Regions from separate parts of the Homo sapiens genome. Here region 1 is linked to region 2. The links are contacts of gene promoters, found by promoter capture Hi-C in human tissues and cell types (Jung and others, 2019). All regions are on one chromosome and are shown on one strand. The core of a region is centred on a gene start or on the middle of the fragment in contact, and the rest is flanking DNA. Distances in the headings are between cores, read along the strand shown. Region 1 holds the start of GJC3 (gap junction protein gamma 3). Region 2 holds the start of SMURF1 (SMAD specific E3 ubiquitin protein ligase 1).

Evidence for each region. Contacts are between HindIII fragments. The study calls those that stand out against the background at their distance.
Region 1: a contact is called between the fragment with the promoter of GJC3 here and the fragment with the promoter of SMURF1 in region 2, in 1 of the 25 tissues and cell types used here (lymphoblastoid cells).

The regions. Positions count from the first base shown.
Region 1 is chr7:99,928,182-99,931,355 of GRCh38, forward strand. GJC3 (gap junction protein gamma 3) reads right to left here and starts at 1,439. Exons shown (of 2, transcript NM_181538.3): 1 at 659-1,439. The coding sequence starts at 1,439. RefSeq lists enhancers at 652-1,237, 1,238-1,822. The HindIII fragment of the contact is 8,959 bases long and covers 1-3,174 here.
Region 2 is chr7:99,142,529-99,145,470 of GRCh38, forward strand. It overlaps SMURF1 (SMAD specific E3 ubiquitin protein ligase 1), which reads right to left and starts at 1,580. Exons shown (of 18, transcript NM_181349.3): 1 at 1,198-1,580. The coding sequence starts at 1,252. RefSeq lists silencers at 762-811, 872-1,201, 1,342-1,841. The HindIII fragment of the contact is 7,331 bases long and covers 1-2,942 here.

The DNA of each region.
Region 1 (3,174 bases), core at 189-2,688, 790 kb after region 2:
AGGAAGGGGCATTATCTTCAGCAACAGGAATGCCAACAGCAGTCATCAATATTTATTGAGCAGGACAGGGGAGAGACACAGTTTAGGGAGGCTTCTCCCGGCTGACTCTTGAACCAAGCCCATAAAAATTGTGATGCTGACACCAGAAAATTCCAGTGAAAAGGCACAGTCAGGAAATGCTTTAGACTACATGGCCCAAGGGGCCCTTAGAGATCCTTCAACAGCCTCTAATTTGTCACAGACATGAATCCCCACTCACTGGATGTTGGAAAGAAGATTCAATCACAGAGTTTCCTTCAGGCAAGTCAGGTGTCTTTATAACTCTGCAAAGTAGAGAATCAAGAAGAAGCTGAGATTTTTCCTAAGTGGAGAGAGACCTAAATGGAAGTTCAGGAGGGACAACGGACTAGCACTCTTGTCCTTGTTCGCTGGAAGGAACCATCAAGTTGATGGGGATGGACATTGGGATAGATTTTGAGAGCAAGAGAGAACAAAGAAAAGGGTTGGGAGTGGCGGTCAGAACACATCTGCCTAGAACCTGGTTACCTACTTTGTAACATGCAGAAGTTGTACTTCCCAGAAAGGTGAGGGACCTGCCCCGGGAGGAGATCATCAGGACACAAACATCAGTGACAGGAAGAGAGCGTGTCCTTCTCACCTGCTTCTTGAAATTGCTCTTTGGTTTCCACCACTGGGAGGCTATCGGTTGCTTTCTTGTGTCTTCTGGTGCTCTCTGAAGTTAGGAAGTATTTAGAAGAGGAAGATTTGTGCTTCCAGGTCCTCCACCATCTCCCCAAACCCAGAAGCACAAGCTCCAAAAAAGTAAACAAGAGACAGAAACCGCTGACTCCAAACATGGTCTTTAGGAAAATGGTCTTCTCAGAGGGGCGGGACAGATTGCAGGTTATACTACCAAGGCAAGGTTCTCGGCGACATGCAAAGGAGCTGGGCATCTGGAACCCATACAGGTGGTACTGCAACCCCAGGGCTGCCCCCTCCAGGACAAGCCGAGCCCCCAGCTGAGCCACATAAGCCCAGAGCAGCCTGAGGCTTCCAGCCCCTGGGACATCTGTGTTGCCCTCCCGTCCCTGGATCAGGGTCTCCTCCTCCTTCCCCTTTCCTGATAATTCCCAGTGCCAGATCACGTGATACAGAGTGAAACCCATATAGAGGGCGCTGGGTACAGCCACCAAGATGACCTGGAAGACCCAGAAACGCAGCGGGGAGAGGGGGTGGAAGGCATCGAAGCAGGCAGCCTTGCAGCCCGGCTGCTGGGTGTGACACACGAATTCACTCTGCTCATCACCATAGACTCCAGGCCCACTGGCAGCCAGCAGCACAAGGCGGAATCCCAGGAGCACGGGAAGCAAGAGGCGCCCCACGGGGGTGGAGCGCCGGCTCTCCTCCGCCAGCAGCCGCCGCAGGAACCTGCCACACATCCTGTTTTGGAGCAGAGGACAAGAGATCAGTGTTGTTCACTGTCCTTCAGAGGGAGCTCCAGTCCACCTTGTCACTCCTAATCCAAGGATCACTGAAGGCAAGCTTTTTTATTCCTCTCCAAGTATCTGACTGATTAAATACCAAGACTCTGATTGCACCTCTTTACTACTTAATGAAATCATCTATGTAAAATAATAACAGTGAGTGTGTGTGGTGTGGCTCTCTCTTCTGCCCTCCCCTTCTGTACTGCTGGAGTGGAGAGGAACTCTCAGGTTGGAGAGACCAGGATACATCTTCATCTCTCTCTTTCCCTCCTTCCCTCCGTCTCTCTTTCCCAAAGGCTGAACGTAAGAGAGTAGACTGGGATGTTTTGTTAATTTTCCTTTGAAAGGTATTGCTTCCCCAGCTGATGGCTGCCAGGCCTGGTGCTCCTACAGCATCATCTTAAGCAAATTAGTGCTGATGCTGAGAGGGAATGTGCATTCTCTTGCGGTCTTCTTTTCTCTTCCTCCATGCCCTTGGATGATCACAGGTGTGTCTGGATGTCCTCTTCTCCCATCACAGTGGTAAAGTTGAGAGGTAGTTAGGTTATGGGGCTAGATGTGATGGATGAAATGAACAGAGCAAGCATCGAGGCTTGCTTTAGTCTGATGCTCTTAGGCCTTACAAGCTGAGGAAGAAGAGAACATTTGGAAGGTAACCCAGCAGAATTTACCAGAATTACATACTATAGGATTTGGGGCCAGAGCCAGAACTGACTAGATAGAAATTCAGATTTTTGACCCCCACTTGCCATTGTTCCTTGGGCATATTATCTCCCTCATGGTGACAGGCGACCATGATCAAGGATAAGTTTCAGAAATCCCTCTGTTCCCCAGCCAAAATACCACAATGCTACAAGCCCAAGTTCACCATCTCTATATTTGTCCTAATCAGCTGCCTTCCCCAATGCCCAGCAGCTGTTTCAAACCGTCCCCATTTAGCCTAAATTCTCACTCATCTGGTTACCCTCACACTCAGAAGACCATGTGGTATGGTCTGAATGATGATCAAGATGCATATGCTAGAACCTAATACAGTAGTCCCCCCTCTTATCTGCGATTTCACTTTCTACAGTTTCAGTTACCCACAGTCAACAGAGGTCCAAAAATATTAAATGGAAAATTCCAGAAATACAAAATTAATGTTTTAAATTGTGTGCTGTTCTGAGTAGCACTATGAAATCTCACACCATCCCACCCAGGATGTGAATCATCCCTTTGTCCAGGGTATCCAACGCTGTAGACGCTCCTTGCTGGTTTGTGACTTAATCGCCATTTTGGTTATCAGATCAACTATCAATACTCGTTCAAGTAACTCTTATTTTACTTAAGAATAGCCCCAAAAAGCAAGAGTAGTGATGCCAGCATATTGTTACAATTGTTCCAGTTGTTCTATTTCTTTTTTTTTTTTTTTTTTTTTGAGACGGACTCTCGCTCTGTCACCAGGCTGGAGTGCACTGGCACGATCTTGGCTCGCTGCAATCTCTGCCTCCCAGGTTCAAGCAATTCCCCTGCCTCAGCCTGCTGAGTAGCTGGGACTATAGGGGCGCACCACCACGCCGGGCTAATTTTTTGTATTTTAGTAGAAACAGGGTCACTATGTTGGCCGGGATGGTCTCAGTCTCCTGACCTTGTGATCCACCTGCCTCGGCCTCCCAAAGTGCTGGGATTACAGGCATGAGCCACCATGCCC
Region 2 (2,942 bases), core at 330-2,829:
AGGGTGGAGGCCTCGCCAGACAGCAGCGAGGGGGCGGGGCTAGGCAGGAATGAGGGCGGGGCTTGAAAGTGAGGGGCGGGGCTAGGGGAAGAAGGGAGGAGGACGGTGTGGGGGGGTGAGGGAGAAACGAAAGAGGATGGGGGAGTGAGAAGAGGGTGGGTGGGGGCAGGAGGGGAGAAGCAAGGGGGCAAGTGGAAGGGGAGGTAGCAAAATAGCTTGGAAGTGGTGGGAAAGACCAGGAGGATGAGGGGAGGGAGCAGGTGGGAGGGAAAACAGGAAAGCAAGAGAGATGATGGGAAAGTGGTGAGAAGTGAGGGATGGGACCAGGGGAACAGAGGCAAGGCCAGGAGGGAAAAGCGAGGGGGCAGGTGGGCGGAGAGGATGGGAAGCGAGGAGAAGGAGGGAGGGGGTAAAAACGGCGGAGGAGAAAAAAAGGAGAGAAGCAAGGGGGCGGGACCAGGAAGAAGTGAGGGCCGATGCTAGGAAAGAAGTGAGGAGGCGGGACCAGGAAGAAGTGAGGGCCCAGGCTAGGAAAGAAGTGAGGAGGCGGGACCAGAGAGAAGCGAGGGAGCTGGACGCAGGGAGAAGCGAGGGGGCGGGGACAGAAAGTTAGGAGGCGGGAGCAGAGAGGAGCGAGGGGGTGGGGCCAGAGAGATGGGCGGGGTCAGGTTTGGGGAGGAAAGGTGGGGAAGAGAAAGGACCACAGGGATGGAGGTGAAAGGCAAGGGGGCGGGGCCTGGGGGGAGAAGCGAGGGGTCAGGTGCTAGGGAGAGGAAGGGAAGCGAGAGGCAAGGGGCCGAGCCGGGGAGAGGTGAGGGGAAAGGGCCTGGAAGGAGATGCAAGGGGCGGGGCCAGGAAAAGAGAAGCGAGGGGCGGGGCCAGGGAAGGAGATGCAAGGGGCGTGGCCATGAATGGAAATGAGAGGGGCGGGGCCAGGACGGAGATGCGAGGGGGCAGGTGCGGGGGAACGGGAGGGAACGCGAGACCGAGGGGGCGCGAGCGGCCAGGGGGCGGGGCCGGGCAACGGCGAGGGGGCGGGGCCAGGAGGGAGAAGCGAGGGGCGCACGCCGAAGGGGGTGACGAGGTCCTGGGACAACGGCCGGCGTGGGGGAGGGCCGCTTCCAAGGGCGCCCTGCGGGGAATTCCGGGGCGGGCGAGGGGGCGCCGGGGCGCGGGTGGGCCTCCCGCCGGCCGTACCTGTCAGACGGATCTTGATGCTGGAGCCGTTCCTGCGTGTCCCGGGGTTCGACATCTCCCGCCAACGATCGGGCAGCCGCGGATCCAGCGCCACCGCCCCCCAGCCCGGCCCGGCCCGGCCCCGCCGCCGCCGCCTCAAGGTTACGGCTCCGGGCTGGGCGCCGGGGTCCGAGCCGGGACACAAACTCCGCGGCCCAGGCGTCCGGGCGGCAGGCGGATGGTCGAGCCGGGAGATCGGCGCTTGCTGCGGCGCTCTGACCCTCGCTGCTTCCAGCCGAGCCCAGTCCCGAGCCGCCGCCGCCTCCGCCGCCGCCTCCGCCGCCTCCACCACCTCAGAGCCGGACGCCCGCCGCCCTCGCCGCTTCCGCCGCTGCCGCCGCCTCTCCGAGCCGCGCGCGCGCCCGCCGCCGTGCCGGCCCGGCCCTGCGCGCCCCCGCGCCTGCGTGCGTGCGCGCCCCCGCCACGTACGCTGGGGCGGGGCGGGGTGCGCTGCTACGTCGCCCGCACGCCTGCCTCGGGCGCGCGGGGCCCGGATCCCGCGGGTTGGGGTCTTCACCCTTCCTGTGGTCGGTGGGTGGGAGGGTCTGGCCCCGAGCCCGGGAAGGGAGAGCAGAGCTGGCCCCGGGACCCAGCGCGCGGTCGCCCTCTGTCTTGACCCCTGTCTCTGCGAGGCTCTGGGCTCCTGAGTGACTGAAGAGTGGTTTGCATGAAACCGTGGGCTGTGTCCACACCAAGCTCCTTGCACACAGGCGTGCAATACCAGTTTTTTTCAGTTAAGAGCTTTCGATCGTGCAAGTTCAAGGGAGGGACTTCTCAAAGAGACAAAGCCCTTAGGTGTGTTCTGTGCAACGGGTGTGCTCCACTGACCCATAACAAAGTTGCCAGAATCGCAGAAGTGCCATATACGGACAAGGAAAACGAGATGAGAGGGAGGGATAAAGTTGAGAGGCGGATGTTTGTTATTATCCATTCTGCATACAATTTTACCAAACAAGAAAGTGGCATTGTGGTTTGTGTTCCCATGTCTTCTGCTAAATTTCCCCTTCTCCCGGGGTTGCAGGTTAGAACCAAAAGCTCATGGCTGGGTACGGTGGCTGTAGCCTGTAATCCCAGCACTTTGGGAGGCCGAGGCGGGCGGATCACTTGAGCCCAGGACTTTGAGGCCAGCCTGGGCAACATAGGGAGACTCCATCTCTACAAAAAATACAAAAATTAGCTGGGCATGGTGGTGCGCGCCTGTAGTCCCAGGTACTGGGAGGCTGAGGTGGGAGGATCACTTGAGCCCCAGAGTTCATGGCTGCAGTGAGCTATGATCAGGCCACTGCACTACAGCCTGGGTGACAGAGCTAGACACTGTCTCAAAACACACACACACACACACACACACACACACAGAAAAAGCTCATTATGCGCTTTCTCCAGCAAACAAACTCCTCTCTGTTAGCATGTTATAGAAATAAACTGGTATTATTAGAAAGAGGGAAAACTAGGTTTATCAAACTTGTTTTTTACCCACTACCTTGTTGTTGTTGTTGTTGTTTTTTGAGACAGGGTCTCACTCTGTCACCCAGGCTGGAGTGCAGTGGCACGGTCTTGGCTCACTGCAACCTCCACCTCCCAGGTTCAAGTGATTCTCGTGTCTCAGCCTCCTGTATAGCTGGGATTACAGGCGTTAGCCACCACACCCAGCTAATTTTTGTATTTTTGGTAGAGATGGGGTTTCGCTGTTTTGGCCAGGCTGGTCT